Linked DNA regions of Homo sapiens: regions 1, 3 and 4 are each linked to region 2. Evidence: promoter capture Hi-C in 16 types of primary human blood cells and fetal thymus (Javierre and others, 2016). All regions are on one chromosome and are shown on one strand. The core of a region is centred on a gene start or on the middle of the fragment in contact, and the rest is flanking DNA. Distances in the headings are between cores, read along the strand shown. Region 1 has its middle 70 kb from the start of PDP1. Region 2 holds the start of RAD54B (RAD54 homolog B). Region 3 overlaps INTS8 (integrator complex subunit 8). Region 4 has its middle 130 kb from the start of CDH17.

Region 1 (2,965 bases), core at 205-2,704, 490 kb after region 2:
GGAGGGGAAATAGACCCATCTCTTGGAGTGGCAGGTGCTTAGAGGGTTGGGAGAAAAGGCTGGTGGCCTTCTCTGCAGCAATCTTTCACATGCTCCTAGACTAGGCTAGTTCTATCACATAGAGAACTGTTCCCTTCTCTGTAAAACTAAGTGCACTTGTAAATACTTATTCAATGTCTATCTACATTCTCCTATCGCCTCCCACATCAGCCTGAAAAATCGATTAGAACAGGAATCCTGTTTATGTTAATTGCTGATTAGAACTGTGGGATGAATGAATGAATGAGTAGGTGAACATGCATGCTATAGTCCAGGCATACGGTGCAGCTACCACTCATGTAATGTATGTAGTTTTCCTTTGTTGGTAATCATAAGCTTGATACTTAAAGTCATGTGGCACTTCCTCTCCTCTGGAAATATTGACCAGTATCTAATGAGGATTAAAGTTTGATGATTTGTAAGGGCACAGAAAAGCTTACAGTCCTTAAGAGTGCTTGGAAAATTCTTACTTCTCTAGGAGGAAAAGACAATGATTATGTTATCAGCAATTTGTCTTAAAGTTATTGCAACATGCCTTCTTTTTTGGTGCCTGGAAGTCATTACTGCAATATTAGAATAACTGGCCTTGCTGATGTTTGACTATAAGTGGTTGTTCTGAAAACACATTGGAAAATCCCTGCCCCAGTCCCCGTCTATCTTTTGTGTGTGTGTGTGTTTTTAATGTTAACAAAAACCAGAAGGGGAGTTTAAGAGAAAAGCAAAACCAAACATGGTTATGCAGCATTCATGGGAGTTTGTTTCAGAAGCTCACATTTCAAATGCTGAATTAATTGCAGGCTTATAAAAGTAAGAGTGAAAAAGAAAATTTTCAGAACCAGGAAATAAAAAAAGAGCAAGTCTGGGAAATCAACCAATGTGCTTTTCTTTTGAATTTTTTTTTCCATGAAAACAGAACAGGATGTGAGGCACAGGGAAATTGGGACTTTTTTTAGCCAGAGCAGGGTTTGAAAAACCTGGTTTTGACCTATGAGTCGTCTGATGCACAGATGCCAACCCTGGAGCCCTTCTGGTTGCTGCCCATCTCCTCGGCCTTCATCTGCATGACCAGCTGAGCTGAGCCAAGGCCTGTGACAAGCAGGAACTGGATTATCAGCCACCCTTGCATTGTGTCTCATATGTTCCTCTCTATATTAATCATGCTTAGGTGCCAGGAGTATTTGCTAGCATTCCTAAGATGAAATGAGTTCCTGTTGGCAATAAGTAATTGTTCATTTAAAAGACAACTTAAAATGTTTAAAATATGTGTGTGTGTGTTTGGGAGGAGTATATATATGTGTGTGTATACATATGTAAAACTTCATCAGCAGATTAAAAAGAGAGTCTTAAATTAGAAGAATTCAGGCAAGCATGGCCTCTTATCCTCGTAGAGCAAACACTCCACATCTCAAAGCTGAGAATGACATGTTTTTCATTTGGATTTCTAGGCCTAAGTTCAGCATTTATTTCTTTATAAATACATATAAACAAAGTCTCCAGGCAACCATCATGAAATAAAAGCAACTAGTTCTGAAAAGCAGAATAATGGCTTTCATTTTAGTCTTCTTTTTTGCTACTTGGGAAATCTCTCCCACTCTACACCACTCCCACCAATCGCCCATACACATTCCCCAGTAAAAACAATAGTAGTTTATGGGTTTTTTCACCACCAAAGAGGGAAAAATGTCTTGAGCCTCAACATATTAAATATCAGAGTTAAATGGGTTCACAAAATTCCATTGGTTAGTACCCTAAGTTGGCTGATCTTAGCTAAAACAAACATCAAAGAATGCGGGAGTGCTCACTGGCTTCTAGGATCATCTGCCTCATGCAGGTTGCTTTTCTTGCTGTATGGCTGCCTAGCAACCTGCCACCAGCCAGTCTCACTCCTTCCTGCTCATTTCCTTACACTGGTCCCCAAAGGCTTTCCTACTTGTTTGTCCTACAGTAGCAGGATCTAAACACCCAATGCCCGCAAGAGTGGCTTGGAAGTTGTTTGGGATAAGATCGTGGCAGTCCTTGAATGCCAAGCCCTGGAGTCTCCCACTAATTTGAGAGATAATGGAGAGCCACTGTCACTTGGAAGCAGCAGACCAATGTGATCAGAGCTGGCCCCTGTTTAGGAGGCTGTGAGGTAACAGACCACAGTGACAGCCACAGGGATGAAACAGGATGCAGAAAAAGAGCTGCATGCCTGTGGTAGAAGACACGTTGGCTGTGGGAGCCCTGGAGATACCAAAGGCGCTGCCATGCTTCAGGTCTGGGGTGGGGCCATCTGCAGATGCAGTGAGTCAGGAAGCTACACGGAGAGAACTGTAAGAACCACACTGCACTTAATGAGTCTGAAGGGTCAAAGGAACAGAGAGGCTGAGGTGCCCACATTCTCCCCAAAGCTTCCTCTAGGAGGAAAATCACCACAGAGACTATTCGAGGAGCTATGTGACTGTGTGGCTTCCTTCAAATCACAAAAGTGCTGTGAGGGAGTGGACAGGTTGGGACAACTTGTAGTGATTTCCCCAAAGCCTCACTATGCCACTACCGGCCCACAGGGCTGTCCCATGATGCAGGCTGAGCCACGTGTAGTACCTCCTCCCACTGGCCTGTGATTGGCCTAAACTGGGCAAGAGTCTGTGGCTAAGGAATCAGAGTCATTTCTTGGAAATGTCTACAGAGGTCTCCATCTGGAAAGATTTGAGCCTAGAACATGTTCCTCACCAGTGAATGCAGCCCATCTTCAAAAGGAGAGAATAAAACCCTTTTATTATTACCACTTTTATTGCTATTTATTATGAAAATTACCTTTCCAGAGGTAAGCAAAGACAAGAACTTTACCTGGTAGGGATCCAGTCCCTGAGTCCAGCCAACTCTGAGGCTAGGCTTTTTCTTGGCTGGGTCACATGAGCTAATAGATTCCCTTTTTATGGATTAA
Region 2 (2,945 bases), core at 313-2,812:
AGAGAATAAAGCAAAGATCCTGCCCTCATGTAGCTTATATTCTGAGAGTAATAGAAAAACAATTAACAAATAAGTATATGTTAGGGAATGGAAAGTGTGATGAACTCTATAAAGCAGGGTAAGGGAGATACAAGATGAGACAAGAGAGCAATGCACTGTCAGATAAAGCCCTTTGACAAGTTGATATGTGAGTAATGATCTGAAGTGAAGGATCAAACCAGATGCAAATCTGCAAGAGGAATGTCCCAGGTCACCTTTAGCCAATCTGTTTTAGATTTTCTGAACTCCCCAGATGATATTAAGGTAGGCTGCAGACACTATGAAGCTAGCTTGTTTTCTGGTTACCCTTACTCTTTATGTGTCCCAGTCCAAAGAAGAGGGGGGTGCGGTTTACTAAGGTGCCCAACCTTGGCAGGTCCCCATTTCAAATTCTTGTAACGCTGGCTCCAGGAGCTGCCAAAAGCACAACTCAACCTATGAGGTGCTCTTTATGACTGGAAAAAGTCCCCAGGATAAAAGCTCCTTAAGCACATTACTCTTTTTTTTTGAAACAGGGTCTCTCTGCTGCCCAGGCTGGAGTGCTGCGGCACCATCTCGGTTCATTGCAGCCTTCACCTCCCAGGTTCAAGCGATTCTCCCGCCTTAGTCTGCTGAGTAGCTGGGATTACAGGCGCGCTCCACCAAAACCAGCTAATTTTTGTATTTTTAGTACAGACCGGGTTTCACCATGTTGGCCAGGCTGGTCTCGAACTCCTGACCTCAAGTGATCCGCCCGCCTCGGCCTCCCAAAGTACTGGGATTACAGGCACAAGCCACCGCTCTCAGCCTCAAATTACTCTTTTAAATGGCTGTACCTATTTACACTCCTACCAGCAGCCCAAGAGTTCCCATTGTTTCACATCTTCATTTCACCCTTGATATTTTTTAGCTTTTACTTTTTGTCAAACTGCTGGATAAAACTCAATAAACAACCTTTAGCCATTCTCTCTCCTTTCAGATTAGCCTTTCTAATACCATTTTTCAGGGATAGTTGACTGTGTTACCGCCTAGCACTTAGAAGGTGCTCAGTAAATACTCATTGAATGATGTAACTTTCCTACTTAACATGCTTTAATGCTTTTCCAAGTCCGGAGGCGGCTCCCCTTTTCTGAGAGCCTAATAATCACGTATTCGTTTCTATATTCCCAGAACCTAACAAAGAGTTTGAAAATTATCCTGCAGGCACCGCTAAGTCAATGTTTTTTCGGATGAATGAATAACCAATAGGATATCGTATACTTCTGCGATGCACGCATTTCTATTATCGCACACACCGAATCATACCGTATTTATTACTTATCCACGCAGATGGTGAGGTCTGTAGCCTCGGCATCTACACTGTGTCTGAAAGTAGGCACTAAACCAGTATTTTTTTAATTGAACCGTAAACTTGAATCAAACTTGGAAGCATTTAAAGCCAAACGCAAAGATACATGCGCAGTGATGCAGTAGGGTCGTCCAATCAGAGTAGGGCAGGACAGGGCAGTGCAGCGGCTAGGTAGTGCGCACGCGCGGCGGGCTCGTCCGCGATTGGCTTCGCCGAGGCGGGATCCTTGAGCTTCTCCGGCGGCGAGGGGATAGCTGGTTACCAGAAGGACTTCTTTGCAGGGCCAGTGGTTTCTGTCAGATTTTCGCCGGTGCGTCCTGCAGGGGGAAGCTCGGGAGGCTGCGACAGCCTGTAGGCTCGTGCGGGACAAAGCAGGGAGTGGCGCCGGAGCAGGCCAACGAGGGAGGAGGGAGGGAAGGCGGCAGGAGCGACCGAAGTGGCCTTCTGCGGGCCTGCAGCTTTGGTCTGAAGTGCCAGGGACGCCCTGGTTGCTGGCCCCGGGGGCCTTGGAGCGAAGGGCGGGCGGTGGGGGTTTAGGGTTGTGCGTTTGTGTGGGAGGGATGGTTCTGGGCAGTGGCCCCTGGGGCCGCCACTGCGGTCGCTTTGCGCAGGCTCCTCTTGGCTTTTGGGTCTCTCCCTCACTCCTGCACTGGGAATTTCCTTCCCCAGGGCCAGGGGGTGAAGGCTCTGCGAGCGTCCTGGAGAGTGTCGGTACGCCTTCTTTAGGGGCTTTTACCTCTTCACTGGTCAGGTTTTTCTTGTATTTCCTTAAAACCTTTTAATCGATTACCTTATGGAAGATTTTCTAGGTAGGAACAGATGCTTCTCGACTTACTACGGGGTTGAAAATATCCCAAATGGAAAATGGATTTAAAACACAGCTAACCTACTGAGTATTAAAGCTTGGCCTAGCCTACTTTTGTTATCAAAAAAATTATTTTCAGCTGTTTATTTTAGATTTGGGGGTACATGTGCAGGTTTGTTGCATCGGTATATTACGTGGTGCTGAGGTTTGGATACGATTGATCCTGTCACCCAGGTAGTGAGCATGTTACCCAATAGTTTTTGAACCCTTGCTCCTCCTTTCCTCTCCCTTCTAGTTGTCTCCACTGTCTATTGTTGCCATCTTTATGTTCATGAATGCCCAATGTTTAGCTCCCATTTATAAGTGAGAACATGCAATATTTGATTTTCTGTTTCTGCTTTAATTCGCTTTGGATAATAGCCTCCAGCTGCACCCATGTTGCTGCAAAGGACATGATTTCATTCCTTTTTATGGCTGCGCTAGCCTACCTTAAACATGCTCAGAACACTTACCTTAATCTACAGTTGGGCAAAATCATGAACACAGACGGTTGTGTGGTTACTTGTACAGTTTCTACTGAATGCTCATGGCTTTCTTAAAAGTCGAAGAATTCTAAGTGACACCGTCCTAAATTAGGAACCATCTATATAGCCGGAGTCTCAAAGGAGCAATTTAAGGCATGAAGTGAAATAATTACTACCTAATGTAGTTGGAAGTCGACAAGCAGCAACAGCAGGGAGAGACCGTTGCTGGTTCTTGGTAGAGTTGGTGTAC
Region 3 (3,276 bases), core at 567-3,066, 370 kb before region 2:
TCTAATGTTGACACATAAAAATGCAAAGGACTGCCGGGCGTGGTAGCTCACACCTGTAATCCCAGCACTTTGGGAGGCCGAGGCGGGCAGATCATGAGGTCAGGAGTTTGAGACCAGCCTGGCCAATATCGTGAAACCCTGTCTCTACTAAAAATACAAAAATAAGCCAGGCATGGTGGCGCGTGCCTGTAGTCCCAGCTACTCAGGAGGCTGACACAGAAGAGTCACTTGAACGCGGGAGGCGGAGGTTGCAGTGAGCCAAGATTGTGCCACTGCACTCCAGCCTGGGCAACAGAATGAGGGACAAGAATAACCAATACAACCTTGAAAACAAGGTAGAACTTGCTCTCGATGGTATCAGGACATGGACATAATAAGGTATGGATAGACAAATAGAAAAGTGGTATAAAATGGCTCAGAAACAGGCCCATACATGTATAAACACCCGGCATACAATAGAGGTGGCCCTAGAGATTGGTGGGAAAAAAATTAACCTTTCAGTAAATGGTGCTGGCACACTTCCTGCTTCACACAAAAATCAACTGTAGGTTGATCAAAGACCTAAACGTGAAAGGAAGGCTATGCTATAAAGCTTTTAGAAGATAATAATAGAAGAATATCTTCATGACACAATAGGAAAAAGCTTTCTTAAACAACACACAGAAATCACTACAACGGAAAAAAATCGGTAAATTTGATATTAAATTTAGGAGCTTTGGAACAATATAAAGAAAACTAAGCTGGGCGTGGTGGCTCATGCCTGTAATCACAGCACTTTGGGAAGCCAAGGTGAGTGGATCACCTGAGCTCAACAGTTCGAGCCCAGCCTGGACAACGTGACAAAACCCCATCTTTACCAAAAATAAAAAAAATTAGCCAGGCGTGGTGGCACATGCCTGTAGTCCCAGCTACTCAGGAGGCTGAGGTGGGAGGATGGCTTGAACCCAGGAGGTGGAGGTTACAGTGAACTGAGATCACAGCACTGCACTCCAACTGGGTGATAGAGTGAGACCCGTCTCAAACAAAAAAAAAAAAAAAAGAAAAACTAAAAGTCAAACTCAGTGAAGATATCTGCAATATTTAAAATTGGTAAAAAAGAGAATATATATAGATCTCCTACAAAAAAGAAAGCTCCTTCCAAAGAACAGACAATATAATAGAAAAATGAGACATAACATGGCCGGGCACGGCTCATGCCTGTAATCCCAGGACTTTGGGAGGCTAAAGTGGGTGGATCACTTGAGGTCAGGAGTTCAAGACCAGCCTGGCCAAAATGGCAAAACCCCGTCGCTACTAAAAATACAAAAATTAGCAGGGCGTGGTGGTGGGCACCTGTAATCCCAGCTACTCCGGAGGCTGAGGCCGGAGAATCACTTGAAACTGGGAGGTGGAGGTTGCAGTGAGCTGAAATTGTACCACTGCACTCCAGCCTGGGCAACAAGAGCAGAACTCTGGCCAGGCACGGTGGCTCACACCTGTAATCCTATCACTTTGGAAGGCCAAGGCAGGCAGATAACCTGAGGTCAGGAGTTTGAGCCCAGCCAGGCCAACATGGCAAAACCCTGTCTCTACTAAAAATACAAAAATTAGCCAGGCGTGGTAGCGCACGCCCGTAGTCCTAGCTACTCAGGAGGCTGAGGCAGGAGAATCGCTTGAACCTGGGAGGCGGAGGTTGCAGTGAGCCGAGATCACGCCACTGCACTAAAGCCTGGCCAGGCAACAGAGGGGGCCCCATCTCAAAAAATAAAAAAATAAAAAAAAAAAAGCAGAACTCTATCTCAAAAAAAAAAAGAGGCATAACACTTGGAAAAGGTACCTCAAAAAACAAAATCCATGAGTAAAAATTAAATGAAGAGTTGTAGAAATGAAAACCTCAATGAGGTACTGTTATACAACCACCTCACAGGCGATCTGACAATATCAAATGTTAACAAGGATGTTGACTGATGAGAACACTCAGGCATGCTGGTGGTTATAAGCCACTTGGTTTTTAAAAATTAATGTTGCAGATATATTATTCCCTAGGTATGTAACATAAACTGGTACGTATGCACACCTAGATATATGTACAAGTATGTTCCAAGCGGCAAAAACTATAAACAACACAAATGTCCCTCCATCATATGTGTATACAGCCAAAAACTATAAAACACACAAATGTCCCCCATCATAAGACTGAAGAAATTGTGGCGTGGTCCATATAATATTCTAACTTTTTTTTTTTTGAGATGGAGTCTCTCACTGTTGCCCAGGCTGGAGTGCAGTGGCGTAATCTCCACTCATTGAAACCTCTGCCTCCTAGTTTCAAGCGATTCTCCTGCCTCAGCCTCCCAAGTAGCTGGGATTACAGGCACTTGCCAGCACGCTCGGCTAATTTTTTGTATTTTTAGTAGAGACGGAGTTTCACTATGTTTACCAGGCTGGTCTTGAACTCCTGACCTTGTGATCCACTCGCCTTGGCCTCCCAAAGTGCTGAGATTACAGGTGTGAGCCACTGCACCCAGGCTCTAACACCTTAAAGCAATGAAAAAAATTGTTATTTATATACAACTTGAATAAATCTCACAAATAAATCTCTTTAGTGAAAGAAGATGATGAATACACATTGTATGATTCCATTTATATGAAGTTCAAAATAGGCAAATTAAAGAATGTTCTTTAAGGATACATACAGAGGTGATACAAATATAAAAGAAAGCAAGAAAATTATGATCACAAAAGCCAGGGCAGTAGCTACCTCAAGGGAAGGTAGAGGAGGTTGTAAAGACCACAACAAAGGCTTCTAGAGTGCTGGCAACGTTGTATTTTTGGAAGTAAGTGGTATTATCTGTGCTTTATGTACTTCTCTCAATGTCTCTAACATTAAGACTGTTAAGAAAGAAGTAGAGTGATCCAGTAGAAACACAGATTCCACAGCACACATGACAGACAAGAGGCTTGATTTGGGAGTTCTTAGTAAACAGGTGATGAAACAGATGAGTGAAGCTTTGGAAGTAAATAAAAAATGATGAGTGAGCCAAGGACAAAAGTTCTATGAACAGAAATACTAAAGGAAGAGCAATAGAGAAGTCAATGAAGGACTAAGGAGAATCCAATAAAGATGCTGAAGAAACATGGAGCGAACTAGAAAAAGAGCTACAGCAGAAGACCAGGCGGAAGGGCATAGTCTGTCAAAAGTGCCAATTGTCAGGCACAGAAACGCAAGGCAGACAGGAAAAAAGGAACTGGATTTGGCAATTAAGAGGTCACTGGTAAGCTTAAAGCAAATTATAAATC
Region 4 (3,087 bases), core at 277-2,776, 400 kb after region 2:
GTCCAAGATGAAGCCTCCAGTAGACTCAGCATCTGGTGGGAGCTCGCATCCTGGTTCATAGTTGGCACCTTCTCACCGTCCTCACATGGTGGGAGAGTGAAAGAGCGCTCTGGGGCCTGTTATAAGGGCACCAATCCCATTCACCGGGGCTCTGCTCTGGTGGCCTAATTACCTCTCAAAAGGCCCCACCTCCTAGTTACTATCACCTTGGGCGTTAGGATTCCAACGTATAAATTTGGGAGGGACACAAATATTCAGACGATAGTAGTGCCTATCTATTCTATTCAATTATCTTAATATTTCTGGACGATTCTTACGCAGTTAGAACACACTAATGTGTTGCAATCAGTCGCAAGATGGAAAGATGGTCTATAGTAATTATAACTAATTACTATCAGCTTGTTACTAGTGTGTACTAGTACTGCCAATAACTAACTTAAAAATTAGCGTGGTCTCCAGGTTCTCCCAGTTGAATGGCTATCTAGCTCCCTTGCATTTGGAAGTGCTTTCAGGAGTGGGTAAGAAGAACAGAGCTGCAGAGAAGGCAACAGGACTTGCATGCTGCTGCATAGGAGTCATTTGTTTCACATCACATAGAAAAAGATTCAGAACTTTGGTACGGTTTGATTGATTACCATGTCTGCCAACAATGAGTCAAAACGCATTGCCTTGCTACTCCCTAGCTTTGTGCTAATCAATACCTGAGCATGTTTGTCATTTTCTACTAGGCTGAGTATAAGTCTTATTCCTTCACAATGTCCACATTTTACTGTAGCTGAGAGGGCCTTAATTATTTCATTTTTTTAGCAAAATTTACAAATGCAGTAAATTAGCTCCATTTTAAGTTTCATAAAGATTCTTGAAATGTTTGCTCATATCTGGCTCAGCTAAAAAGATGTCATGGGACTGGATGACCAGTTGGAAGTGAGAGAAGGTGACGGGTGATGGATGGAAATGTCTGAACTGCTTTGAAGTTCTTAGTAGGCTTTTGTGAGGGAAATACCTTTACTTATGACCTGGAAGATCAGTATACTGTCGTAATTTATGAAATAAACCAAATTAGAAACCACTTAAATAAAACTAAAGAAGTAAGAATCTTGGACAAAAGCCAAGAATGATTTTCCACTTCAGGAAAGATGTGAACCGCAATCTATAAGGCACACTGATCTGAAATGCTGACTCTATAGATGGGAAATCCCCCAGAAATTGGCAAGGACAGGAGAATATTAATACATTTATGCATTGGCATTAAATGCACAGTTTGTAAACTTGCTTTCTGTTCAGAAAGATTCTTTATGGCATTACTAGAATGTTCACTGCCTTCAAAATTGACAGTTATCTTTGTATAGTGTCATTTTTCATGATTATGCTACTCTGTATGTATTACAAAGGCAATTAAGGTGGCATACATTTATTGAGCACCTGCTATTTTCCAGCAACTGTGCTGAGTGGGAGAACAATTGAAAGGTAATTGTCATGCAGTATAACAAGAGCTAAAATAGAGATAGGTAAAAACTTCGATGGGAGGAAAAAGTGCTTTGTATTCATTTTATCCTAATTTCTTACAAACGTGATCCTATAAAGCAATTATTATTCCATTTTATAGTGAAGGAAATTGAGGCACAAAAAAGCAGATTTTACATCACTAACATTAGAGTCCCACTGTCATCATCATTTATACTTACTGAGCACTTACTAAATGCTTGGGCTTGATATTCATTTTCTCATTTAATGTTCACAGTAACACCCAAGGTTGAAAGAGGTTCATTCATTCAACATTGAGCACCTATTGTTTCCTAGGTAGGGGAATGCAATGATGAATAAGCTGCAGTCCCTGCCTTTAAAGAATGTTTAACCTAATTTATAAATTACTTGTACAAGACACTGGCGCTAGTAAAGGCTGAGCTGGGATTTAAATACAGGTCTATCTGGCTTTAGTACTAGCGGTCCATCCCATACTCACTGACACTCATTCACTCACTTGCTGTGTGAGGTTCCAGGCCAGATAGCCAGGTGACACAGCCAGGAAGTCACCAGGGGATCAAACAGCTGGGAAGTGACCCCAGATCTCCTATATTAGTCCAGTGTCCTTCCTATACCACTGCAGCCCTCATGACCCCAAACTGGGCAAACTCCATGGAAAACACTGGGTGGGGTTGGGATGTGGTCTCACCTGGCTCTGAGGCCCCACTCAAAAATGGCATCCATTTGCCAGTCTGACTGAGAGCCCAACAGCCGCATCCCCTCCCCACTGCTGAAGAGAGGTGTCCACTGCATCCCTCACCCTTTGCTTCTTTTTCCCGGGCTGACTGCACGATGCCAGGGATTTAGTGTAGGCTTTTCTTATTTATTCTTGTCTCCTTGAGGTTTTGCTTATGTGTACTTTTTAGTTTCCAAAGTGCTGAAAGATATATTGTCTTTTTAAATTCCGGGCAGCTCACTGCAGAGCTACTCACAGAAACAACACATTTTTAAAGAAGAGGTTGCTACAGATGTAGCATGCACTTTAATTTAGAGTTGTCCTTGTCACACTGTTGGAGCCATTGGTCTTGACCTCTGGGATTTATCTAGCTTAATGATGGTTGCAGCAAATATTATTTTTGCCTGGATTTTTACATTTTTAGAAGAAGGTTCAGGATTGTTTAAATACAGTTTAAATCTATTTAATTGAGTAAGCATTTTAAAGTTTGTTGAAGTGTAACCATCAATAATGGAATCTCCTAGGTTAGAGGCTAAGAGGATGGCAGGAATAAATTAGGCAGTCTGTGTCCTCTGGGGGGCTCTGATTTAATTGAAAGAGGTTTTTTTTGTTTTTCTTTTTTTTAGAGTAGTGATTGAGAGCAGGGTTTGGTAAACTTTTTTTTGCAGAATCAGATAGCAAACACTTTTGGGTGTGTGGGCCATGTGGTCTCTGTCACAACTACCTAAGTCTGCTTTTTTAGCCTAAGAGCAGCCATAGATGATAGCAAAAAAATGGGCATGGTTATGTTTCAATAAAACTTTATTTACAAAAACAAGCAGTGGGCCAGATTTGCCCATGGGCCATAGTTGGCTGCCTCCTGTTTACAGTAACCTCTCTACCATCAG

What was found. The method cuts DNA at HindIII sites, captures the fragments that hold promoters and counts their contacts. A CHiCAGO score of 5 or more calls a contact.
Region 1: a contact is called between a fragment that was not itself captured here and the fragment with the promoter of RAD54B in region 2, in 5 of 17 cell types (naive CD4 T cells, activated CD4 T cells, total CD4 T cells and 2 more). The highest score is 7.0, in naive CD4 T cells.
Region 3: a contact is called between a fragment that was not itself captured here and the fragment with the promoter of RAD54B in region 2, in 1 of 17 cell types (monocytes). The highest score is 6.0, in monocytes.
Region 4: a contact is called between a fragment that was not itself captured here and the fragment with the promoter of RAD54B in region 2, in 1 of 17 cell types (activated CD4 T cells). The highest score is 5.1, in activated CD4 T cells.

What each region holds. Positions count from the first base shown.
Region 1 is chr8:93,985,178-93,988,142 of GRCh38, reverse strand. No RefSeq gene overlaps it. Among named protein-coding and RNA genes, the nearest start is that of PDP1, 70 kb to the right of the region's middle. RefSeq lists enhancers at 2,104-2,153, 2,224-2,343. The HindIII fragment of the contact is 1,955 bases long and covers 477-2,431 here.
Region 2 is chr8:94,473,732-94,476,676 of GRCh38, reverse strand. It overlaps RAD54B (RAD54 homolog B), which reads left to right and starts at 1,562. Exons shown (of 15, transcript NM_012415.3): 1 at 1,562-1,676. RefSeq lists an enhancer at 1,600-1,829. The HindIII fragment of the contact is 4,488 bases long and covers 1-2,270 here.
Region 3 is chr8:94,842,516-94,845,791 of GRCh38, reverse strand. The region is part of intron 10 of INTS8 (integrator complex subunit 8); the gene reads right to left. Among named protein-coding and RNA genes, the nearest start is that of INTS8, 21 kb to the right of the region's middle. The HindIII fragment of the contact is 2,342 bases long and covers 646-2,987 here.
Region 4 is chr8:94,073,551-94,076,637 of GRCh38, reverse strand. No RefSeq gene overlaps it. Among named protein-coding and RNA genes, the nearest start is that of CDH17, 130 kb to the left of the region's middle. The HindIII fragment of the contact is 5,091 bases long and covers 1-3,087 here.